Linked DNA regions of Homo sapiens: all the other regions are linked to region 3. The links are contacts of gene promoters, found by promoter capture Hi-C in human tissues and cell types (Jung and others, 2019). All regions are on one chromosome and are shown on one strand. The core of a region is centred on a gene start or on the middle of the fragment in contact, and the rest is flanking DNA. Distances in the headings are between cores, read along the strand shown. Region 1 overlaps MAD1L1 (mitotic arrest deficient 1 like 1). Region 2 overlaps MAD1L1 (mitotic arrest deficient 1 like 1). Region 3 holds the start of NUDT1 (nudix hydrolase 1). Region 4 overlaps MAD1L1 (mitotic arrest deficient 1 like 1).

Region 1 (3,533 bases), core at 408-2,907, 200 kb after region 3:
GCAGCCACCCTGGAACCAGCTCGAGGGTTTCTTAAAAACTGCACTGCAGCTCCCATATGACCAGCAGTCGCATTCCTGGGTGTCGATTCCAGTGAAATAAAACCGAGGTTCGGACAAAACCCGACAGAGGACTCTTCCTAGCAGCTTTTGCATAATGGCCAAAAACTGGAAAGAATTCTGATGTCCTTCGGTGGTGATGGTTAAACAACGGTAGTGCCTCCGTCACACAGAGTAATACTCAGGACTAAGAAGGAATTCACTGTGGATAAACATACTTGAATAGATCTCCAGGGAGTTTAGCGGAGCGAAGAGCCCAGTCCCTGAAGGTCGTGTGCTGCATGATCCCATTTGCATGACGTTATTAAAAGGCTGAAGTGATAGACAGCCTGTGGATGGCTGCCGTGAGTTACGGAGACGCACAGGAGGAATCGTGGCTGTGAACGGACAACCCGAGGGGTTTTTGTGGTGATGAAATGTGCTGTATCTTGACTGTATCATTGTCGGCATACGGGTTGTGATACTGTGCTGTAGTTGTGCCAGATGTTGCTATTGGGAGGAACTGGATGAATGCTACTTGTGATCTCTGTATTATTTTTTATAGCTCCAAGTGAATCTGTAATTGGATCAAAATAAAAAGCTTAGATCAGGCACAGTAGCTGATGCATGGAATCCCAGCACTTTGAGAGGTCGAGGTGGGCGGATCACTTGAGGTCAGCAGGAGTTCGAGACCATCCTGGCCAGCATGGTGAAACCCTGTCTCTACTAAAAATACAAAAAATTAGTGAGGCGTGGTGGCACACACTTGTAATCCCGGCTACTTGGGAGGCTGAGGCAGGAGAATTGCTTGAACCCAGAAGGCGGAGGTTGCAGTGAGCCAAGATTGTGCCACCGTGCTCCAGCCTGGGTGACAGAATGAGTGAGACTGTGTCTCAAAAAAAAAAAAAAAAAAAAAAAAAAAAGTCATCAGCTTCATTATCTCCTAACAGCATCAGCTTGTCCTCTGAAACTTTGAAGGCAGGGATCGACTTCTCCTCTGTAACTGTAAAAGCCCTAGACGGCATCTTCCAGCAGAAGGCTGTTTTATGTGCACTGCAAATCTGGTGTTTAGTGTGGCCACCTTCATTGGTGCTCTTAGCTGGATCTTCTGGAGAACTTGCTGCAGCTTCTCCGTCAGCACTTGCGGCTTCACCTTGTACTTTTATGTGATGGGGACTGCCTCTTAATGTAAACCTCATGAACCCACCTCTGCTAGCTTCAGACTTGAATTCTGCAGCTTTCCCACCTCTCTCAGCCTCGTGGAACTTGCTCTGACTTAAGGGAATGTTGGGGCTGGTTTGATCTATCCAGACCACTCAGACTTCTCCGTATCAGCAATAAGACAGTTTCACTTTCTTATCGTTGGTGTGTTCAGTGGAGCAGCACTTTTAATTTCCTCCAAGAACTTTCCCTTTGCATTCACAACTTGGCGAGCTGTTTGGCACGAGAGGCCTGGCTTTCGGCTTATCTTTGCTTTTGGCACGCCTTCCTCACTAAGCTTAATCCTTTCTAGCTTTTGGTTTAAAGGAGAGACATGCGACTCTTCCTTTCTCTTGAATGCTTAGAGGCTGTTGTAGGGTTATTAATTGGCCTGATTTTAATACTGTTGTGTCGCCCAGGGAATAGAGAGGCCCAAGGAGAGGGAGGGAGGGAGATGGCTGGTCAGTGAAGCAGCCAGACACAAGCAGCGTTGGTCGGTGAAGCTTTTGCCGTCTGAGGAGCATAGTGTGTGGCGTCCCAGAATCAATGACAGCAGTAAGATCGGAGACCGCCGATCACAGACCACAACAGACATAACAGTGATGCAATGTCGGAAGTACAGTCAGGACGTGGCGCCCCAGAATCAATGACAGTAGTAAGATCAGAGACCACCCATTACAGACCACAACAGATATAATAGTGATACAATGTCTGAAACGCCATGAGGATTACCAGATGTGACAGAGCCGTGTAGGGAGCACATGCTGTTGGGAACATGGTGCCTCGCCGAAGGCAGGACGGCCACAAGCCTTCCATTTGTAAGAAGCACAGTATCTGTGTAGTCCAGGAGAGCAAGGCGTGCCTGGGTCCATGCTGGCTCCTTATTGTGGCCAGCACACTGTGCTCGTGTAAGATGTTAACAGTGGGGCACCTGGGTGTGGAATATGTGAAAAGTCTCTACCATCTTCTCCATTCTTCTAAATCTAAACCCGTTCTAAAAAAAAAAAAAAAAAAGAAGAGTCTATTAAGAAGACAAAGAAGGAGCCGAAATTTCCACGTGGCAGAAGGCACTGGAACCGGTGAGATCTGATGTGTACCTGGGCCTGATCCACGTTTGCTGCATGGCTGGACACCTTCGTGGGCGCGTGGAAGCTCATGCTGTGGGGGGAGCTGTGGGAGGAGCATGCGGCAGGTGGAGGTCTTCTGCGCGTGGGTGGGCACGCGGAAGCTCGTGCTGTGGGGGGAGCTGTGGGAGGAGTGCTGGAGGAGCCCTGGGAGGAGTGTTCAGGAGGCGGAGCGTGCCTCGTGCGCGTTGGTGGGTATGAGTGGCGTTGGTGGGATCTAGCTGACCACCTCCCACCTGGTTGGTCTGCATCTGTAGACAGCTTAGTTCTTAGGATTCTAGGTACCCAGTGTCATTTCCGACACCTGCTTGGGCTCCCTGTACTGCCAGGGCTGTTGAGTCTTTACAGCACCTCTGATCAGGAGCCCTGGCCTTGGGGAGGTGGGACAGGCACACGTCTGGGTTGCTGGGTTGCCTTTAGGGGTAAGCTCTTCCTTTTGTCTTCTGTTCAAAAGAGGGCCCACAGTGGATTCAGGCCTCTGATTTACCACTGCCTGGAGCTTGGGGAATGCTCTCCAGTGACAACCTGGGCTTCCGTGGGATTTAATTTTGATATATTGGCCTTTGTGTGTAGGAAGAGTCCAAACTCACGACCGGATGGATTGTCCTCCTCAGACTAGACACTTCATCCAGAGAGGACTCTGAGCCAACCCTAAGGGATTCAGGCTGGAGCTCTGGTTCCCCGCACGGAGGTGGCGCAGGAATGCATCGTCCTCCCCTGTCCTGACTTGTCAGCGCTCCTGCGCTCATGCCTGGGAGCCTGGACCCCAGCTCTGTCCCGACTTGTCAGTGCTCCCGCGCTCATGCCTGGGAGCCTGGACCCCAGCTCTGTCCCGACTTGTCAGTGCTCCCGCGCTCATGCCTGGGAGCCTGGACCCCAGCTCTGTCCCGACTTGTCAGTGCTCCCGCGCTCATGCCTGGGAGCCTGGACCCCAGCTCTGTCCCCACTTGTCAGTGCTCCCGCGCTCATGCCTGGGAGCCTGGACCCCAGCTCTGTCCCAACTTGTCAGTGCTCCCGCGCTCATGCCTGGGAGCCTGGACCCCAGCTCTGTCCCGACTTGTCAGTGCTCCCGCGCTCATGCCTGGGAGCCTGGACCCCAGCTCTGTCCCGACTTGTCAGTGCTCCCGCGCTCATGCCTGGGAGCCTGGACCCCAGCTCTGTCCCGACTTGTCA
Region 2 (3,425 bases), core at 106-2,605, 220 kb after region 3:
CCTTATAAACAGCATATAATTGGGTCTTGTTTTTTTAATCCATCCTGACCGTCTTTTAATTGGTGTGTTTAGATCATTCACATTCGAAATGATCGTTGATACTGTTAATACCTGCCATGTTTGTTACTCTTTTCTATTGGGACACTTGTTCTTTGTTTTTTTTAAATCTTCTTTTCTTTATCTGCTTTGTTTGGTTTTAACTGAGCATGTTATATGATTTAATTTTTTAATTCTGTTAGCACAGAATTTTTTTTTTCTTTTGGAGACAGAGTTTTGCTCTTGTCGCCCAGGCTGGGGTACAGTGGCGTGATCTTGCCACCATGCCCGGCTAATTTTTGTATTTTTAGTAGAGACAGGGTTTCGCCATGTTGGCCAGGCTGGTCTTGAACTCCTGACCTCGGGTGATCCACCTGCCTCAGCCTCCCAAAGTGCTGGGATTACAGGCATGAGCCAAGCACAGAATTATCCTAGAGTTTGCAGCATACATTTAGCATGAATCTAAGCCCATGGTCAGATGGCCTTTGACCAGGTCACAGGCAGGGTGGGCGCCTCCCGCAGAACACGCCCATTCCCCTTGCCTCCCGTGCCACCTGCTGCTTCATTTCACCCATCCCTGCACCATCGTCACCCCACACATTGCTGCTCCTATACTTCAAACAATCGTCCATTAGATGAACGAGACTAAGGAAAGTAAGCTAGGCTCAGCGGCTCACAGCTGCAGTCCCAGCGACTTGGGAGGCTGAGGTGGGAGGATCACTTGAGCCCCAGAGGTAGAGGTTGCAGTGAGCTATGATCACACCACTGCACTCCAGCCTGGGCAACAGAGTGAGACTCTGTCTCGAAAAAAACAGATGAATAAAGTAGATTTTATTTTTCCTTATTTGTTACTTCTCTGCTCTGTCTTTCCACATAGATCTGAGTTTCTGACCTCTCATGGGATTCTCTGGAGAATCCACCTCACACTGCTTACAGGGGCCAGGGCTGCCAATGACCAATCTCCCCCAGTTTTCGTTTGTCTAAGAGAGTGTTTTTTGTTTGTTTGTTTGTTTGAGACAGAGTCTCACTCTGTTGCCCAGGCTGGAGTGCAGTGGTGCGATCTTGGCTCACTATAGCCTCCACTTCCTGGGTTCAAGCGATTCTCCTGCCTCAGCCTCCCGAGTAGCTGGGATTACAGGCGCCTATTACCATGCCCAGCTAACTTTTCTACTTTCAGTAGAGACGAGGTTTCGCCGCATTGTCCAGGATGGTCTCAAACTCCTCTGACACCAGACCATCTGCCTGCCTTGGCTCCCCAAAGTGCTGAGATTACAAGTGTGAGCCAGTGTGCCCCGCTGAGAGTTTTTCTTTCTGCTTTTCTTACAGAAGATCATCTTGCTGGATGCAGAATTCCAGGCTGGTGCTGTTTTGTTTCAGTACTTGGATACCTCCCTCCCCTCTCTGCTGCCTGAGTGGCTTCGGTCAGGAGGTCTGATGCATTTCTCACTCTCTTGGTTGATAATGAAGGGCTCTCCCTTCTCAGGCTGTCTTATTTTCCACAGTTGAATATGATATGGCTAAGTGTGGAGTTTTTGGTATTTTTCCTGCTTGATGTTCTCTGAGCTTCCTGGATCTGGGGTTTAGATTTGACAAATCTCGGCCATTATCACGGCAGATACTTACTGTGTTCGCTCCTCGCCTCCTTCTCCTTCTGGTTTTCCTGTCATGAGTAGGTTCCACCTTCACGGTCATCCCACTGTTCTTAGGTCGCCTCTTCTTTTGTTTTCATTGCTTTTTCCTCAGTGCATTTTAGTACGGGAAGTTTCTGTGGACCTGTTTTTACATTTGCTCATTTATGCTCTCATCTTTATTTTTATTCCTATACTTTCTGCATATGTTGTTTTGTTTTTTTTCATTTTTTATGTTGGTTAGTTAGCTTGCTACTTTCAGTTTTAGCCTTTCTACTCTAACCATTAAATTAATACATTTTCTTCTAAGTTATTCATTCTTGAGATTGTGCCACTGCACCGTAGCCTAGACGACAGAGCAAGACCTTGTCTTAAAAAAAAAAAAAAGTATTCTTTTTGCTTAGGCCGCTGTCGTCTCAGATGAAGTTTCTCCTGTCTTGTGTGTGTTTTTAACTAGTGCCTGAAGTCCGTCCGATGTTTTCCTTCGTCTCTGCCCACAGCCACCGGGTCAGCCTCCCTCCCAGGAGGCCCCTAGACTCCGGGTACCAGGGCAGCCCGGGCAGGTGAGAGAGGACCCAGGGAGCTGGCTTTGCTCTCACAGAGGCGGGGTCCTCATGGTGTTCTGCTCTAGCTTGTTCCCATGATGTCAGGGCCGGGCGTCCCCCTGCGGCTCGGTCTCACAGCTGCCGTGTGCCCATGGCGTTCCGTCCTCTGAAGGCTGCTGGGAACTGCAGGGTCAGAGCCGCAGGAAGGCAAGGGTGGGGGCCGCATGGTGCCGGGGCCGGGTGCACGCCTTGATGGGAATGCTGGGGTCACGCTGGGGCTGTGGATAGCAATCTCGGGCCTCGTGAGTTCCTCCTTCCGGCAGCCCAGAGCGGGGGTTAGTGCCCCCCCCGATCATGGAGAGCCACTTCCAGTGGTCTCACCAGTGAGGCTGTCCATGGCACTGCCTCCCCGGGCTGGGCGCTGACCCCGGGACTGTAGGGCCGCAGCCTGGGCGGCTCCTCTGTTTGCAGCACCAGCCGGGGCTCTGCCCCTCCGTGGTCTGAGCGACAGGGCAGCCACAACAGCTCGCAGCTGCTGAGTCCTCTTCCCTCAGCCCTGTGCCTGCCTGGCGGTTCTGAAGATCAAATGAGGTAACGTGTGCTTAAGTCATATGTAGCATTAGCATGCTGTGCTGATGTCACCAATTAAAATCTGCCTGAGTGAATCATACTTGAAAACAGTCAGTTGTCAAAAAAAAAAACCTCGTTTAGGGGCAGCAGGCCCAGGAAAGAGAAGCGAGGGACAGACAGGAGGCGAAGCGTTCTGTAGTTGGTTGTGGGGGCCAGGGCATCCGGCCCAGGAGCAGGCGTGGGCCGAGCACAGGGACGCCGCCTCATGTGCACTCAGCACTGTGGCGTGGCGAGGCGTGGCCTTGCGTTGGGGGTGGTGAGGCGTGGCCTTGCGTGGGTGGAGGGTGGCGAGGCGTGGCCTTGTGTGGGGGGTGGCTGGGGCTGGGCCGGGCAGCCCGACCCCCACCCCCAACCCCTGTGGCCGTAAGTGGCCCTCCTTGCTGCCCTTTCCATTGACGGGTGCTGTCTCCATGTACTTATTAATCCTGGTGCACCTTTTAAGCACTCTTTGGGGCATTCGTGCCCCCGTTTTGCACAAGGAGGGTGGGTTCAGAGACGTTAGGTCCCTTGCCCAAGGGTGCACAGCTGGTCTGTGTCAGATTGGAGCGCAGGACTGTCTGACCCGCGTGGGTCCTCCGAGGCGCTT
Region 3 (3,351 bases), core at 262-2,761:
GAGTGGCGTGATCGCGGTTCACTGTAACCTCCGCCTCCCTGGCTGAAGCCATCCTCCTGCCTCAGCATCCCACATAGCTGGGACCACAGGCATGAGCCGCCACACCCAGCTAATTTCTGTATTTTTAGTAGAGATGGGGTTTTGTCACGTTGCCCAGGCTGGTCACGAACTCCTGAGCTCAAGCGATCCACCCACCTCAGCCTCCCAAAGTGCTGAGATTACAGGCGTGAGCCACTGCGCCCAGCCAGGACCAACTTTTCTGGGGTCCACACCTGGACAAGACACAGGGTTCAGGACCAGTGATCCTTCTTGGAAGTTGTGGTGTCTGAGAAAAGGGACCAGATGATAAGGAAGGGGGCAGGGAAGTGCTGGGTAGAGGAGGGCGTGGTCTCTGGCCAGGGCTCCACACCCAGGCCTGTGCCCAGGGACCTGGGTGAGGACAGGCATTTCTGTTTTTTTGCCCAAATGTTGCATTTCCCGAGCCCGCCACGTCCCCGTCCTGTGCCTATAAAAAAACCCCAGTGGTTTTTTATAGTGGGCAGAGACACAAGCCGCTGGACGTCAAGAGGACGTGGAAAGCACACCAACAGGCACCAGCAGGCCATCAACTGATGGAACCATGAGTTTGGCAGGGGCGGTCAGAGGAGAGCCCAGGCTGCTCAGCAGCCCGACTCCAGGGGAAAATCACCTTCCCACTCCAACTGCCTTCTGGCTCCCCCATCTGCTGAGGGCTAATTCCACTCATAAAACCTTGCACTCACTCTCCAAGCCGCCGTGTGATCTGATTGCTCCAGTACATCAAGGCAAGAAACCTAGGGATACAGAAAGCCCTCTGTCCTTGCGATAAGGCAGGGAGTCTAACAGCTGACTAACACAAGCCACCTACAAGGCTAAACTGAAAGAGCACCCTCTAACACATGCCTGCTGGGGCTTCAGGAGCTGCAAACATTCACCCCTAGACACTGCCGTGGGGTGGGAGCCCCTCAGCCTGCCTGTCTGTATGTTCCCCTAGAGGCTTGAGAAGCGGGGCACTGAAGAAGTGAGCCACATCCTCATCGCACGCCCTTCGAGGAGGACAAGGGAACCTTTCCCATTTCACTGAGACTGGGTCCTGGTGGCGGAGGCAGGTCAGACAGGGTAAATGGGTTTGTGGCTTAGTTTCACACCAGGCCCGTGTACTTTGTCCCGACACTGATCTGTTTCTGCCAGAAGCCACGGTTTCCAAAGTAAATTTTTGTGATTTACTCCTGGTCTCCCCCAAGCCTCCGCCCCGCTCTCCTTGTCTCTCTCCCAAACCCCCGGCCCCGCTCTCCTCGTCTCCCTCGAGCCCCCGACCCTGCTCTTCTGGTCTCCTTCGAGCTCCCGGCCCCGCTCTCCCCCAAGCCCATGGCTCAGCTCCCCTAGTCTCCTGCCGCCCGCTGGCCCGGCTCCCCTCCCTGGTCACCACGACTCCTGGAATCCCCGCGCGCGCTTTTCGTACCTGCACCGCCGCTTCCGGGGGCGTGGCCTCTGACCGGAAGTGAGGCCAGGCACTTCCGGCGGCGCGCTGCAGGCGCGGGGAACACCAATGGCGGGGTGAGCTGGGCGCTGCTGCTGCGCGTGCAGACAGCGGGAGTGGTTGGGGGTCCGCCCGGTCGCCTTCCTCGGTCCTGGCCTCGGGGCTGGGTGCCGAGCGCTGGGCACCGTCCCCGCACTCAGCGAGCGCGACAGGGGCGAGGCCAGGATTCCGGGTCGCAGTTCCCCGGGAGGAGGGCGCCCTCAGGTCTCCAGGGGCAGGGCCGGCGGGGCCGTGGGGAGGCCGGGGCCGGCGGCGGAGTCCAGGTGGGGGGCGCAGCGCCGGGGCCCAGATCCAAGGCGCCGGGGGCGAGCCCGGGGCGGGATTTCGCTTCTGGGCCGGGTAGCTCCATTGCCCGCGCTTCCTGGGCTGTCGAGTGGGCCCTGGCCCCCGGGACCGGCTTGTGCCATTTTCCCGGGAGACCCCTTAAGCGAGGGGAAGACAGCGACTCACGGTCAGCAGTCAGTGCCTCCTGGCTTGTCAGCACGCTTTGGTGTTGCAGAAGCTAGAAGCTTTGGCCTTGGAGCCATGAGGGTGGTAACTTTTATTTATTTATTTAAATCAGAAAGATGGACATAGAGACCGGGCTTGGTGGCCCACACCTGTCATCCCAGCACTTTGGAAGTCTGAGGCAGGAGGATCGTTTGAGCCTAGGAGTTCGAGACCAGCCTAGGCAATGTAGTGAGATGCCATCTCTAAAAAAGGTTTTTAAGAATTAAAAAAAAAAAAAAAATTAGCCCAGGCATGGTGGTGCACACCTGTAGTCCCAGCTACTCAGGAGGCTGAGGTGGGAGGTTCACTTGAGACCCAGAGGTTATGGCAGCAATCAGCTGTGATTGTGCCACTGCAACTCCAGCCTGGATGATAGCAAAACAAAAATGGCCGGGTGAGGTGGTTCACGCCTGTAATCCCAGCACTTTGGGAGGCCAAGGTGGGCTGATCGCCAGAGGTCAGGAGTTCGAGACCAGCTCGGCCAACATGGTGAAATCCCATCTCTACTGAAAATAGAAAAATTAGCCGGAAGTGGTGGCACACACCTGTAGTCTCAGCTACTCAGGAGGCTGAGGTGGGAGGTTCACTTGAGCCCCAGAGGCTGTGGCTGCAGTCAGCTGTGATCATGCCACTGCACTCCAGCCTGGGTAATAGTAAAACCCTGTCTCTAAAAAAACAAAAAGAAGAAAGAAATGCCTGGGTGCAGTGGCTTACACCTGTAATCCCAGCACTTTGGGAGGCCAAGGCGGGCAGATCAGCGGAGGTCAGGAGTTTGAGACCAGCCTGGCCAACATGGTGGAACCCATCTATACTGAAAATACAAACATTAGCCGGACATGGTAGCAGGTGTGCCTGTAATCCCAGCTACTTGGGAGGCTGGGGCAGGAGAATTGCTTGAACCCGGGAGTCGGAGGCTGCAGTGAGCTGTCACTGCACTCCAGCCTGGGCGCCAGAGTGAGACTCCGTCTTAAAAAAAGAAAAAGAGGACATAGAACTTCCTTGGTGAGGTTGTTGTCAGAGTTAAACAAGGGGAGGTGTGTATAGCTTCCACCTGCTTAGCTATTGTGGGCTGTGAATAAATTGTTACATTTATTGTAACAATTGTCTAGAGAATCTTGGAAATTGTCCTTCAACGATTGACACAGGTTTAGTTCAATTTTATTTAAGACATGTAGGTGAGAGGATTGTTTGAGCCCAGGAGTTCGAATCTGCGTTGAACCGTGACCTCACCACTGCACTCCAGCCTGGGCTATAGAGCGAGACCCTGTCTCGAAAAAAAGAAGAAAAAAAGAAATGTGACAGGC
Region 4 (3,710 bases), core at 919-3,418, 170 kb after region 3:
GAACTGGGACCTCTTGATGCTCTCGTGCTTCACGACGGACGCACGCGTCTGATCCAGTCCTCCCCTGCCCATTCGCAGCGAGGGGCCTGGTGGCCTCAGTTCCATCCAAGAGGAAGGAGAAGGCCAGAGGTGGATGGAGCGCTCAGAGCCTCCGGATAGTGGGTTGACGTGGGGGATCCTGCAGGTAGGCGGGACCCTCTCAACCCTGTAGGTCCCAGGGCAGTTGTTTCCCTGCCTCTCTGCAGAGGCAGCTATTGATTCCCATTCTCAGGCGGCTCCTCAGATACACAAGGAGCCTGCGTCTGTCGTGCCGGTCTCCAGGCCGGAGCTGGGGGCTTCGATGGCAGAGACGGCTCCTCTCTGTGGTGAGTGGGGGCCCTTCCCCGGTGTTCCCTCTTAGCAAGGAGCGAATGTGGATGCCTGAACATGCTCAGTGTTGCTTCTGCCCTGTCTGGGAACCCTGGCCTTCCGGGAGAGTATTTCTGAAACCAGTTCGTGCTCCATTTAAAATTTTGCCTCTAGATCCAGGCTGCTGCGAGGCTCCCCGACGGGCGCCTGTGAACACAGCTCTGTGTACAGTTCTTGTGACTGGAGGACGAGCACGTGTGGTTTGGGAGGTTGTTCTGTCCAGCGATATCCTCTTTCAGAACCTGTGGGTGCTTCCGGAGCAGAGCAGGGCAGGCTGTCCACTGGGGCTGGAGCCTGTCCTCTGCTCCCTGCTAGCCTCCTGGATCCTTGTCTCCTGCTCCCGCGCGCCTCCTGCAGAACGGCACTGCTTTTTGTCTCGTGTACCTGCTCCAGGCCACCAGTTAGAGTTCACTGCTCCCCGCTGGGTCGCAGCCCTCCCAACCGCTGGCTCAGCCAAGCCCGTGCACTTGCTCTCTTCCTGAGAGACACATGGAACGTGTCACCTGTGTGGCAGTGCTGTTGCTTGGCCCGACTGGGGCGTCTCCCCCCAGCCCTATGGGGGTGCTCAAGGCATGGCCCTGGAGACCCTGGAGGTCAGTACAGTGGTGTCCTGGGGGACACGGTGGCTTCATGCTCATGACTCAGTCGCTCAAGGCTTGAATTTACTCATCTGTAAAATCGAGATGATTAAAAATCATACTTGTGGGTGGGTCTTGATCTATGTTCCTCAGATAGCTAAGAATAAAGGTGCTTTTAGAGATTTTGCCAAGGTTCGAATACAATTTTATTAGTATTTTCCTAGTTTCATGCCAGACGTCATCACTGAGGATCACCGTGCATGCGGCTGTGTTTACATCTTAACCCTTGAGGCCACTGGCAGGCTCACCGTGCTGCGAGCTCACCATGTCGTAACCATCTCGGGCTCACCATGCCGCGGGCTCACCAAGTCGTAACTCTGTCTTGGGCTCACCATGCCGCGGGCTCACCAAGTCGTAACTCTGTCTCGGGCTCACCGTGCCGTGAGCTCACTGTGTCATAACCGTCTCGGGCTCACCATGCTGCGGGCTCACCGTGCCGCGGGCTCACTGTGCCATAACTGTCTCGGGCTGACCATGCTGTGGGCTCACTATGTCGTAACCCTGTCTTGGGCTCACCGTGCCACAGGCTCACCATGTTGTAACCGTCTCAGGCTGACCGTGCTGCGGGCTCATCGTGTCGTAACCATCTCAGGCTCACTGTGCCGTGAGCTCACCATGTCGTAACCGTCTTGGGCTCACCATGTTGCGGGCTCACCAAGTCGTAACCCTGTCTCAGGGTCACCATGCCATGTGCTCGCTGTGTCATACCTGTGTCTCGGGCTCACTGTGCTGCAGGCTAACTGTGCTGTGGGCTCACTGTGTCATAACTGTGTTGGGGCAGTCATCAGCCCGGAAGCCTCGGTGTGACCCCATGCCCATGTGTGAACAGTGTGTCTGGGCGTTATGGGTTAGGAGACCGTCTGTGTTCGGGCTCACTTAACAAAGTACCATAGTCGGGGATCTGAACAGACGTCCGTTTCTCACAGCTGTGGAGCTGAGGAGTGCAGGATGGCAGTGCCGGGTCTGAGGAGGGCTCTCTTCCTGGTTTGCAGATGACCAGCCCCTGTCCTCACAGGGCAGAGGGAGAGGACTCGAGCTTTGTGCTGCTTACAACTTGCGCATCCCATTGGGAGCACTCCGCCCTCAGGACCGAATGCCCTCTCAGGGGCCCCCGTTTGGTCACCATCACATTGGGGATCTGGGTTTTCACAGGTGAACTTGGGACGACACAGGCATTCTGTGCACTGCCCAAAACGTGCTGGTTTTGCCCTGGGCCCGGGCGTGGCTGTGGAGGCGTCTTCATACCCTGTGGATCCACACTCCAGGCACCACTCAGCCTTGTGACTGGGGCGGGAACAGCCGCCTCATACCATCCCAAGGGTCGGATCAGGTCCCGGGAGCACACAACTGCTTCGCCTTAGACCCCAGCACCACCTGTCCTGGCCTCTCTCAGAGCCTGTCTCCCGCGGTGGCCACGCCGTGGGCTCCTGTGCTCCAGAGCCCCATGGTTTCTGGGGAGAGTCCAGTGATGCCTGTTTGTGCGATGCCTGCCCTTGCCTTGGCGGGTGCTCACAGTGGGCTGGGACTTGGGAGAAGGTAGACAAAGAGTGTGTGGGAGGAATGGGTCGTGCGTGGAAGAGCTGGCTCAGCAGTGTCTTGAGGAAGGTCGTTAAAATGTCTCCTGCCACTTTGGGATACATTGTGTCCTTTCGTTGTTCCTTGAAAGTCGGTATTCTTAGGCCGGGAGTTTCTGATGAAGATCACATTAAAGTGGCCGGCAGTGGCTGGTCACAGCGCAGATGGATGCTCAGAAGCTCAGAGCTTGTTCTTTGAGTAGAGGCTGGCTCAGAGAGCCATTGATTGATAAACATGCCTGGCTTCTCCTTGAGGAACTAAGAACTTCATTCTGAACTCCCAGAGGCTCACGGAAATGCCAGTGACCTCAGAGTTCAGTCCAAGCATGGAACTAGAGGCTTAATTTTTTGAGTTTTCTCTTCTGTACCTCAGAAGAAAGGCCGGGATTGAACAGAGAGAACATCCCCAACAGGGGAGAGCCCGCCGTCGCTGGTGCCGCTGTGGCTCAGCGTGCTGGGTCCCGGTGCCCTGCAGGGCCTGAGGGGTGGGAGGCAGAGGCCATCTTGCCGGAGCGCCTCTACCTGCACGCCTGGGTGGGCAGCACCACTTGTTGGCGGTGTCTGAAACGCTAGATGGGGGGCCTTTAGGCTGCACTCTGGGGCCGTCCACTTTGTGCCGGCCCTTCCTGCACCTCCAGGGCTTGGCTCCTAATTGCCACTTCCTCGGGTCTTCAGGACAGGGCTGCCTCTGCTGGACCTTCCCCTCCTCTCGAGACGCCGGCACCTCATGGACACATGCCAGCCTGCTCCTTGCCTTCCTGCCCCTCTGGCTCAGCCCGCTCTCCACGTCCCGTGCAGAGGCCGTTCCTGGTTTGCTCGTCCTCTTGTGACCTTGCCCATTGCTCCCGGTTGGCCCAACCTCGGGCCCACTGGGCTGACCACGAATGAGCACGCCAGCTGCCCATTGGAAGCGTCCCCGGCTCTGACACCGCCTGTCTCTGACACCACAGGCTGTCCCGCCACCCCTCCCCGAGGGCCCCCCCAGCCTCCGGTTTCCCCTCCAGTGTCAGGAGGCACCTGCTTGCTGGTTTGCTGATGGCCTGTCTTCTGCCCATTGTGGTTACTGAGTTGTTGCCTCGCAGCTCCACAC

What was found. The method cuts DNA at HindIII sites, captures the fragments that hold promoters and counts their contacts. A contact is called where the count stands out against the background at its distance.
Region 1: a fragment that was not itself captured here is called in contact with the fragment with the promoter of NUDT1 in region 3 in 2 of the 25 tissues and cell types used here (mesenchymal stem cells and mesendoderm cells).
Region 2: a fragment that was not itself captured here is called in contact with the fragment with the promoter of NUDT1 in region 3 in 2 of the 25 tissues and cell types used here (lymphoblastoid cells and spleen).
Region 4: a contact is called between a fragment that was not itself captured here and the fragment with the promoter of NUDT1 in region 3, in 1 of the 25 tissues and cell types used here (lymphoblastoid cells).

The regions. Positions count from the first base shown.
Region 1 is chr7:2,035,925-2,039,457 of GRCh38, reverse strand. The region is part of intron 12 of MAD1L1 (mitotic arrest deficient 1 like 1); the gene reads left to right. Among named protein-coding and RNA genes, the nearest start is that of SNORA114, 51 kb to the left of the region's middle. The HindIII fragment of the contact is 3,001 bases long and covers 157-3,157 here.
Region 2 is chr7:2,019,389-2,022,813 of GRCh38, reverse strand. All of the region lies in intron 12 of MAD1L1 (mitotic arrest deficient 1 like 1), which reads left to right. Among named protein-coding and RNA genes, the nearest start is that of SNORA114, 68 kb to the left of the region's middle. RefSeq lists enhancers at 2,002-2,821, 2,863-3,012 and a silencer at 3,153-3,202. The HindIII fragment of the contact is 8,467 bases long and covers 1-3,425 here.
Region 3 is chr7:2,240,386-2,243,736 of GRCh38, reverse strand. NUDT1 (nudix hydrolase 1) reads right to left here and starts at 1,511. Exons shown (of 4, transcript NM_002452.4): 1 at 1,481-1,511. It overlaps MRM2 (mitochondrial rRNA methyltransferase 2), which reads left to right and starts at 1,532. Exons shown (of 3, transcript NM_013393.3): 1 at 1,532-1,575. The coding sequence starts at 1,568. RefSeq lists a silencer at 1,606-1,825 and an enhancer at 2,148-2,999. The HindIII fragment of the contact is 10,120 bases long and covers 1-3,351 here.
Region 4 is chr7:2,074,731-2,078,440 of GRCh38, reverse strand. All of the region lies in intron 11 of MAD1L1 (mitotic arrest deficient 1 like 1), which reads left to right. Among named protein-coding and RNA genes, the nearest start is that of SNORA114, 12 kb to the left of the region's middle. RefSeq lists an enhancer at 1-214. The HindIII fragment of the contact is 9,448 bases long and covers 1-3,710 here.